Linked DNA regions of Homo sapiens: regions 2 and 3 are each linked to region 1. The links are contacts of gene promoters, found by promoter capture Hi-C in human tissues and cell types (Jung and others, 2019). All regions are on one chromosome and are shown on one strand. Each heading gives the region's core, a stretch centred on a gene start or on the middle of the fragment in contact. The rest is flanking DNA. Distances are from core to core; before and after follow the strand shown. Region 1 holds the start of CCDC179 (coiled-coil domain containing 179). Region 2 overlaps SVIP (small VCP interacting protein). Region 3 overlaps LINC02718 (long intergenic non-protein coding RNA 2718).

Region 1 (3,159 bases), core at 499-2,998:
AATCAAATGGCATTCTTGTGCATGGGGCAAGAAGATGTGTACTAGAATGTTTGCAATAGTACTATTCATTTTAGGAAAATGTAAAAATAACACAATGTCCATAAACAAGAGAAAGGATTAATGAACTGTGATATGTTCCATGACAAAATATTGAACAGCAGTGAAAATAAAGAAACTATATACAGCAATGTAGATAAATCTTAGGAAATAATATTGAGAAAAAAGAGTAAATCATACACTAAATTTTGTGTGATCCTATGTTTATAAAGTTCAAAACCAAGCAAAAGCAAATAGTGCACTTATAGAGACACCTATGTAACAAACTATTAAAGAAGAGGAAGAGATTGATGTAGCTAAAATTCAAGATGGAGGTCACCTCTGGGAGAGACCTTAGGAGGTAGAATAGAAAAGCATTCCCTAGCTGGATTCAGAAATACCTAATATTTTAATCCTTAAATGGGAGGCATATTGTAATTTATAAATTATATCTGCCACATCTATTTTTGTATATGTGTCAAATGTTACATTAAAAAATAACATAAGCCATTTAGTTTACCCTAGTTAAGACCCATTCCAATAGTAGTCATTAGATCCCAGAGTCCCAAGAAATATACTGAAGTGTCTACTTAATACAAGTTCTATTATGTTAGGGACCACTACATAAAGGAACAAGTTACAAGCACAATGTTTAAACAACCAGAACCTAGTTCTTTATTTAAACATTACCTGCCGCTCAGTGACCTCTGAAGGATGATGTTGTCTTGGTCCTTCCTATATAATAAACAAAATTAAAACACATTCACACAAAAAAGTCATTAAAAACAGTAAATTAATTATTATAATAGGAAGCCTATGCTACTTTTAAATTTATGTATTATATGAATCATTTCAACTATAAGAAGCAGGTTAAAAAAACAAAAAGAAAAAAGTCAAGTTCAGAATAAAAACATCTAAGATAAAAATTGTGGTGGAAGATGGAGACGATATTATGATAAAAAAGAACCAGCTGTGAACCACCTTACAGATAAAAGGCAGAGTATAGAGATATATTCGGGAGGGAAAGAATGTACGAGAAATCGAAAAATGCATGTTTCTGCTTCTACAGGACTTCAGTGGTGCTATTGAGCAATCTAGTCTTCAATCTGGTTTCAAAGCCTAGGAGTAATTGGTGATGTGATTGAGATCGTATGGTTTTCTGAAGCACAGGGAGCTTGGCTGTTAGTTTTCGAGATTCTCACCACTTCCTCTATTTCTTGATTGTACCTTAAATAACTCCTCCTTCACTCGTTTTGATCCAATCTTTTAACCAGAAGACCCAAGAGCAATCTGTTCCACATCTGGCAATTGAGAACTTTATCCTGCTCCCTACTTCTGTAATTTCCACTCCACCTCCTAGGGCAGGCCAATGGGGCAGTCAACATACAGGTGATGTACCTGACCCCTAAGCACACAGTGGGTGGAGCTTTTTCTTGTTTCAGAGGGGTCCAGCAGTCAGGATGTAGTCTGTCTACATCACCTGGAATTTCCCAACCCCCAGCACCAAACCACATTTACAAGAGTTAGAAGCACCATGGCCAAGGCCACAGTGGCCTGGAGCTCAAGGCACAGGACAGAGTGGCAGAGTTGAGGTTGTAGGCCCCAGCAGACTCACAGGGTTGACTTGGGAAGGCTCGATGTCCCAGCAATACAGGCACATGCCGTGGAGCCTTAGGGCGCCCCCTGACGCCTACTGCCTGTCCTGGACCAAATGATTATGGGGCCCCACACCCACAGCCTTCAAGCCCTGCCCCACCCAGTTCCATCACTATTCTCTTTATTCTTCTCCCTGCTATGGGCCCCACCCTTTCCCCAGTTGTATTCCAGTCCAGTGCAGGGAAGGCAAGGCCTCAAGTTGTCTGCAGTGTCTTTGAGTTATGGAAGTCAGTTTACCATAATTCCTTATATCCTATCCTTCTTCCTCAGAAAATTGCAGAATACCAATTTCCCACCTTTTCTACCCTTCATCTCTCTAGTCTCTCTCTTTATAAAGCCCCTTTCATTTGTTAACATATCTAGCTTAGTCTCCATGTTCTCTTACTTCAGACTGTCTATCTATTGTTAGGGTTCTCAATTCCACCACCTCATTGTTGTTCCTTCACAGCTTCTAGTTGGGCTGACCCAACTGTCTGCCTTCTTCCCATCTATCTATACCAGATGAAGTGAGGAGAAGCTTGAAGATGGCTGGAATACATATTTGTGACCCCAGATCTATTTATTTATTTATTTTCTTTTTTCTTTTTTTTTTTGGCCAAGTCTCTCTGTCGCCCAGGCTGGAGTGCAGTGCTACAATCTTAGCTCACTGCTACCTCCACCTCACTGCTACCTACACCTCGAGGGTTCAAGCAATTCTCCCATCTCAGCCTCCCGAGTAGCTGGGACTGCAGGCGCATGCCACAATGCCTGGCTAATGATTTTGTAGTTTTAGTAGAGACAGGGTTTTACCATATTGGAGGCTGTTCTCAAACTCCTGACCTCAGGTGATCCACCCGTCTTGCCCTCCCAAAGTGCTGAAATTACAGGCGTGAGCCACCAGGCCCGGCCGTGACCCCCAATTTAAACTGGGTCCTCAAAGCTGCTTAAGACTTTTATGTTGCACCAGCTTTTTTTGTGCTCTGCAGTATTCCCTTCAAATTGTCTTCTATTAAAATCTCTGAATCCACCAACACTCAGGCACTTCCAGTAGAAGTGGGACAATCCGTGCTTCACACTCTGATGCTGGTGAACATGTATAGAGCTTACTATGCTCAGCACTGTTACATGAATTTATATGTGTTAACTGATCAAGTCTTTAGACCACTCAAGGTGGGTAAGGGCATGATTATAATCACTGGGAAACAAGGCGCTAGCATGTTAAATTGCTTTCTTGAAGTTACGCTATTAGTAAGAGGGTGAGCTGGAATTTAAATCCAGGGTTGGCCCTTAGATCATGTGCTCCTAATTATGTGCTATGCTACCATTGCTTTTGAAGCCCTCACTGGGGCTACCTCAATACCACCTAAAATCCTATAACCTTGTCAATATCCACATTATCCTTTTCCCTGTAACCCTGTCGAAATGGAAAAAAAAATTGGTATCCCTTCTGTTGCCTCAAATAAATCTATCCATTTGCATTTGCATGCC
Region 2 (3,657 bases), core at 1,113-3,612, 34 kb before region 1:
CATCCCATCTTCTCAGCCTCCCAAAGCCTTCCTCTCACAGCTGAGATTACACGTGTGAGTGACTGTGCTCAGCCTCTTCATGCAAATGTTACATGCATGAGTATTCTGTCCACTGGACTCTGAAGTTGGTAACCACTGCACAGTGAACCTGCTATTCAGTAGCAAGAGCCTAAATATCCAATAATCAGTAAAGGAACACAAAATAAAACACAACAAAACAAAAATTTAAAAATTCTTGTTTGAGCCAGGGAGTCAAGAAATGGCAGAAACCATTAAAAAATGGTTTGGCAAGGTCTTTTCCTTCTTGAGTTAAGAAAATATTCCATTTGCCCCTTTGTTTAATGAAGTCTATTAAATCTGTGATAGGTCCTGAAGAGCCATTAGGATAGAACCAGAGATATTTGGCAATCTCTTGATAGTGTTTTCCAAGTACATCCAAGGAATATTATTGGGTGTTTTATATATATATATACACACACACATATATATATATATACACATATATATACGTATATATATATGTATATATATACGTATATATATACACACATATATATATAAAATCTATGTTTAAATAAATTTTCAACATTAAAGATTAATCCAAGTAAACTTGCTTTTCTTCATTGTACAATTTCTTAGAGGCCATAATTCTGTGCCTTTTTTAGTCTCTAAGAAGGGGATATAGTCTACAATATACAATTTAGCATTTTTAAACATTTATTCCCATGGGACTCTATCTTCCAAAACATCTCTCTTAGGACAAGTGTTATAAACGCTAGGATAGTGATTCTCAATCTGGGTTCACATTAGATTACCTTGGGAAGCTTAAAACAGTCCTGATGGCTAAACCCTACTCTCAGAGACTGACTGGTGTGAGGTGGAGCCCAATGAACAATCCTTTTTGAAAGCTGCCTATGAAACTCCAACATGCAGCTAAGGTGGAAAGCCATTGTACTAGAGGTCTACCCTTACTCCCGTGCTGCTATATCCTGTACTGATAGTACTTTGCATCCTGATGCCATCATCACATTGACTTCTTCAGGTAAGAAGTCAGAAGACAGCATTACCCATGCTAATTACCCTGGAAAGATGCAGCACTGGTCAGGAGATGAATAGGTGAAAGGCATGAAGACAGGGAATGCAAACTAGACTCATACTCTAGGTAGAGTCAGGTCAGAAAGACTCTACCTAGGGAAGAGTCTTCCTAACCTTCCTACCTTAGGAAGACTCTACCAATACTTCAGGCCAGCCCATGAAACAAGCCAGACAGCAGCCATTAAAGGACCATAGGCCAAGCGTTTTGAGGGTTAAGTACTTCTGCCTTGTATTTTTCCCTTCTGTTATCCCTGAGCCTTCCAGAATTTTTTCACTTCATGCTCTTGACATGTTGTGCATGTGTCAAGCAGAATGGAGCATGCCACTTGAAGCTAGTGTGGTAGTGGTAGGTGATGAGGAATATTCCAAGGAAAAATTACTCACAGTGGACAACAGCAGTGGCTAATGACAGTGAGCCACTGGAGAAAATCCTCCTGCCACTATATAGTTTCAAGGTCCTGAAGGTCATTTTTACTAAGTGAGTTTGAGAGATTTCTTACAAGAACAGTACACAAAGAAAAACAGAAACTAAATTTAACTTTGGGTATGTTTTACATTTTGAGCACTTTTGAATGGATTGTAAGTAATATAAGGCCTAAATTTTTTTTTTAATCTATAGACTTCAGAGTGTGGAAGCTTCAAGTTTAAGAAAGCCTCTTTCTTTATTATACTTTAAAAGCTGATGTTAATTTCATTAGGTTAGAACTTGTGAAGTGTCTTCTTAATTATGATTAAGTGTTGATTAAATTATCCTTTTCCTATAACATTACGTATGACTTTAACTTAATACCTTCACCACTTCTACTGTGAAATAGTGGATCTCATTATTTCCAGTCCTACAATTTAACTTTTGTAATTTTGTGTTTGTTTTTGACAACCCTATATGAAGTAAACCTAGTGAAACAGCACTTTATCTCAACAGAATATTGAGATATGATAAAGAATTGACCTCGTTATCACCCAACTGTTTTACTTTACACTAGACCTATTCTGTTCTATTATGGAATTATAAAAAACATAAGCAAAATGGTCAGACTTATTTACCTTATATTGAAACTAATTATATATTGCTAAAAGTTCACCATAAAAAAACTTCATAAATTTTCATTCGTTAAATGATATAAGATGAAGTAACGTACAATAGTAAAATACACAGACACACATTCTTATTTCTGTGATATTCTTGAGCCAGAATCAACTGCTCAGGGTGTTCATAAACTGCCTGCCCCACAAGTTACGAGAGTATCTACATGTAGGCAAGTGTATGTGTATATGTCCATGTATATGTATGTGCATGTGTGTGTGTGTGTAGTTTTGAGAGAAAAAAAACCAATAAATCTGTTGAAAGGTACTCATAAATCATTGACAAGTTAAATATAAATGACTGAAATTAAAGACATTGTCCTTTTCACAAATATACTACTATTTACTTTAAAAATGGACCAAGAATAAATTCTTAATATCTGAGCCATTATTTTCCTGAGCTTTAAGGGATTTTAAAAATAAATCCTTTAAAGTCCTGCTAGAGTGTAAAGACTCCAGCATTCAGAGACTCTGCTTAACTTGTCCACCATTATATTCCCAGTGTCTAGCTCTGGGATCCATATCTAGGGAGGTATGTGTATGATACCCACACCTGTATACATTCTGTAATCCAAATTAACATTTACATAACTATAATAAACAGGGGCAATGGAAAGATCAAAGATTCCAAATCAATGCGTAAAAGAGCTCAGGCCATAAAACAGAACTTATAGCGTAATCCAATTTAATAAGATATATAAATGAAGGTTAGAAATTATGTCTGTCAAAATGGTACTTAGTTTGGATGACTTTTACACTTCTTTATACTTCTCCATATTGCTTGAATTTTTGAATTATTTAAGATTAGTAGTAAGCATAAGAGTATTAAAATATATATAGTGTTAAAATAATAAATCTATTATTTCATTTTGGGGAAAAAAGCTAATTGATTCCAATAAATGTTAAAATAAATTGGTATTACTTCCAATATTTACTACTCATGCTTTTAAACTATTTCAAAATTTTCTGATAATACATTTCAGGAGAAAATTATGAATGGATTGCTACTTAAGTTTTTTTAAAATGCCAGTTAAGTTAATCACTAAGAAAATTTTAATACTTACCCTAAGTCCACCTTCTGGTGGGGGCCCGGATGTAGCAATTTGTTTTTCTATTTTTTCCTTTTTCTTTCTCTTTTCTTGCACAGATTGAACATCTAAAATTCCCCGAGATGCAGCCTTGAAGAAATTTGATAAGAAAAACAGAAAGACAACAAAAATCTGTCCAGTGTGCAAAACATTTTTTTGTCTATCTTTGCTTTCTAGGTTTTTCTTTGGGGGTAGGGAGTTGGTTTATTTTTGGTAACATAGAAGGAGTGTTTCTACAACAGCCTTACATAAAACATCATTTCTTCACTGGGTATTTTGTAACTATACAAATTTTCCCCTAAACTTGCTTCACATCTGTAAGTATTTTACAATGCACAGCCATTTTAAAAGGAAGGATGTTACTAAAAGAGTATCTGAATTTAGAGAAGAT
Region 3 (3,537 bases), core at 765-3,264, 35 kb after region 1:
AGTGGCCAAATTTTTCTTCTTTATTTGGTTTGTCTTTTCAGTTTCCATCCTTTGTTGTGATTCTATTTCTCTATCTTTTGTGAGAAAAGACGTACAAAAAGAAGATGTAATAGATCCACTTTTGCATTTCTATAAAGGAAAACCTGAGGCTGGGTAATTTATAAAGAAAAGAGGTTTATTATGGATCATGGTTCTGCAGGTTGTACATGCATGACAGCAGCATTTGCTCAGCTTCTGGTGAGGCTTCAGGAAGCTTCCAATCATGGTGGAAGGCAAAAGGGGGCAGGTGCATCACATCGTGAGAGAGAGGTAGCAAGAGGGAGTGGTAGGGGAGGTCCTGGACTCTTTTTAACAACCTTATCTCATGTAAATTCAATGTGAGAACTCACTCATTACCACTAGGAGGACATCAAGCAATTCATGAGGAATCTGCCCCCATCACCCAAAGACCTTCCCCCAGGCCCAACCTCTAACACTGGGAGCCACATTTCAACATGAGATTTGGAGGAAGCATGTATCCAAACCATATCAACTATCAACAAGGAAATTTGTTCACAGAAGTCAATAGTTTGCTTAAGAAACAAAAATAATAAATAACAGAATCATTACTAAAAACCCACAACCTACCTCAAGACTCATACTGTTTCCACTCTGCCATGTTGTTCTTCTGTAGCTCTCTGGAACCACAGAAAATATGTTTACAACATTGTTGTTAGGATCTTTTTAGAAAGTCTAGATGTAGCACACAAGAAATGAGGAATGAGTCCACAATTATATTTTCATCGATCATCCTGAAACCAGCTGAATAGATAGTATAGTCAACCTGCATCTCACTCCTCCAGATGAATTAGGAATCTCTTAACCCCCTTCCAGGAGAACTGAGGCCAGTGTCTTACGTGGAACCAAGAGTGAAATATGTTGAATTCACTGAATAACATCTTACTGTCTCTTCCGTCCTGGTATGTAAAAGAGGAGGATGCTAAGGCTGCAGTAGCATTCCTTAATGGTGCTGTAGGGCTACTATTTCCTCTATTCTCCTTTCACTCACTATTATGCTGTATCCACTATCTACTGGGCCCCAAGGCAGCACTGTTTTCTGCTGGACACATCACTGGGGGTAGAGAGGTAAAGAATGTTCTTCCTCCTGCCTGAAAGATTCTCTGCGACTTAGAGAAAGCTCCTATATGTCAACAGTTGCAAGGTCCAGAACAGGGAATTCATTTATAATGACACATTTTAGACATGCCCACAGCAGCAAGCCTAGGATCGTTTTGAAATGTGTCAGTGTCATGGTGTCATTCAGCCTTTGGCTTTGACACTAGCCATGGTGTATACGTAGTATAGGGTATTGGTCTGTAGCAACCAAGTTTGGGTGGCAGAAGCAATTTTAAAATCTCCCAGCCTCCAGGGGGTATATCTGAGCACTGATTCAGAGACAAGGAGAGAGAAAACATACATTTTAGACAAGAGTAAGACTTCATATATGGGGAAGGCTGCAGTGGATTAGAAACACCGGATCCTCTGATAAGCTGAGAATGTATGAATGCAAAGGTTGTGTTTCAGGAAATGTATTGCAGACTATTATTTATATCCTAAGTTATATAGTAGGTTATTTCAGTTCTCATATGTTGATGCATTTAATTATCTAAAAATCTGATGAGAAGATACTACACTACTTCCATCTCCATTGTCCAGAAGACAAGGCTAAGGACTGGAGATGTTAAGTAATTATTACAAACTAAGTAGTAGATTTATACTCAGAACCATGTAAACTCAAGTCCTGGGCTCTTCTTAAACATAACATTTTATGTTACTAATCAGCCCGTGTTTTTCTTATTCTGGTTGAGGGTATCATCAAGTTGCTCATTGTCTTTCCACCCTTAGTCATTCCACGTATGCATTTCAGAAGGGATTCATAGCACTAGCTTCACAATTTCTCCCTTGGACAACCACAAGAGGCATCCTTAAAACTCTGAGAGAAAACTTAATACAGTTCATACAAAGAAAGAAAACCCAGCCTCCTCACCCCTTGACCTTCCTCACTGTCACCAAAACTAATGTTTTGTTGTTTCTGGGGGGTTTTTTTGTAAGCTTAAAAGAAAAATAATTTATTGTTTCTTATTATCCTGTGGGTCCAATGGGCTCAGCTGGACCCTTTTGCTGCATACCGTGAAGGCCAATTTATGCATAGGGCTGCACTCACCTGACTGTTCCATCCAAGATGTCCCCTCATGTTCCGGGGTCTTAGTATTTTAAAGTGGTAATCATGACCTTTAAATGGATCTTGAAATCAATTTAATGGGCCAATTGTATTAGTCTGTTCTCAGGTTGCTAATGAAGACATACCCGAGACTGGGTAATTTATAAAGGAAAGAGGTTTAATTGACTCACAGTTCCACATGCCTGGGGAGGCTTCACAATCATGGTAGAAGGAGAATGAGGAGCAAAGTCACATCTTACATGGCAGCAGACAAGAGAGCTTGTGCAGGGGAACTCCCATTTATATAACCATCAGATCTTGTGAGACTTATTTACTACCATGAGAACAGCATGGAGGAAACTGCCCCCATGATTCAATTATCTCCACCTGGCCCTGCTCTTGACATGTGGGGAATTATTACAATTCAAGGTGAGATTTGGGTGGGAACACAGCCAAACTATTTCAATCACGACCTGCCTTAACTACAATTTAAAAAGGATTGACTAAAACATAGATGTGAGAGCATGTCACATCCAGTAACGGTAGTATGATGTGAAAGTTTTTCCATTTCAGCTCTGTATAATGTGGATGCATCTAAATGTAAAATAGCCACTGGTAAAGTATTGTGAGACCCACTGTAGAACACCGCAATTCACCATAATCTTGCCTGAGCTGAGGAGGGCAAGGAATAGAAGAATGGTCATCTTAGAAAAATAGGGTACAGAGGCTGGGCGCGGTGGCTCACGCCTGTAATCCCAGCACTTTGGGAGGCCGAGGCGGGCAGATCATGAGGTCAGGAGATCGAGACCATCCTGGCTAACATGGTGAAACCCCATCTCTACTAAAAAATACAAAAAAATTAGCCGGGCATGGTGGCAGGCGCTGACAGTCCCAGCTGCCCAGGCTGAGGCAGGAGAATGGCATGAGTCCGGGAGGTGGAGCTTGCAGTAAGCTGAGATTGCACCGCTGCACTCCAGCCTGGGCGACAGAGTGAGACTCGATCTCAAAAAAAAAAAAAAGAAAAATAGGGTACAGAGAAGGAACTTTGTCATGAAGTCTAATACTGCAAAAATACATTAGTTTAGAAAAATAAAAGACCACACAAACACACACACACACATTCATTCTTTGGTTCAGAGCCATCAGTAGCTTATTGGTGATCTCTGACACGAGGCAAATATTCCCTCACATTCATTCTAATTCTGCACATTTCATATAACCTGCTGAGAAAAGATCTGCCTTTCTGGGTAACTTTCTACTCAGAAGAAGCACCTTGGTTCACAGACTCAGACCTTCTTATCATTAAGAATACTTAATGGAAATGGAAATACTTAATA

Evidence for each region. Contacts are between HindIII fragments. The study calls those that stand out against the background at their distance.
Region 2: a fragment that was not itself captured here is called in contact with the fragment with the promoter of CCDC179 in region 1 in 2 of the 25 tissues and cell types used here (adrenal gland and hippocampus).
Region 3: a contact is called between a fragment that was not itself captured here and the fragment with the promoter of CCDC179 in region 1, in 1 of the 25 tissues and cell types used here (heart right atrium).

Annotation. Positions count from the first base shown.
Region 1 is chr11:22,858,726-22,861,884 of GRCh38, forward strand. It overlaps CCDC179 (coiled-coil domain containing 179), which reads right to left and starts at 1,749. Exons shown (of 4, transcript NM_001195637.2): 1 at 1,652-1,749; 2 at 727-771. The coding sequence starts at 1,696. All of the region lies in intron 3 of LINC02718 (long intergenic non-protein coding RNA 2718), which reads left to right. The HindIII fragment of the contact is 9,229 bases long and covers 1-3,159 here.
Region 2 is chr11:22,823,965-22,827,621 of GRCh38, forward strand. SVIP (small VCP interacting protein) reads right to left here. Exons shown (of 4, transcript NM_148893.3): 3 at 3,243-3,356. Among named protein-coding and RNA genes, the nearest start is that of LINC02718, 3.6 kb to the right of the region's middle. The HindIII fragment of the contact is 6,049 bases long and covers 1-3,657 here.
Region 3 is chr11:22,893,416-22,896,952 of GRCh38, forward strand. The region is part of intron 3 of LINC02718 (long intergenic non-protein coding RNA 2718); the gene reads left to right. Among named protein-coding and RNA genes, the nearest start is that of CCDC179, 35 kb to the left of the region's middle. The HindIII fragment of the contact is 6,473 bases long and covers 1-3,537 here.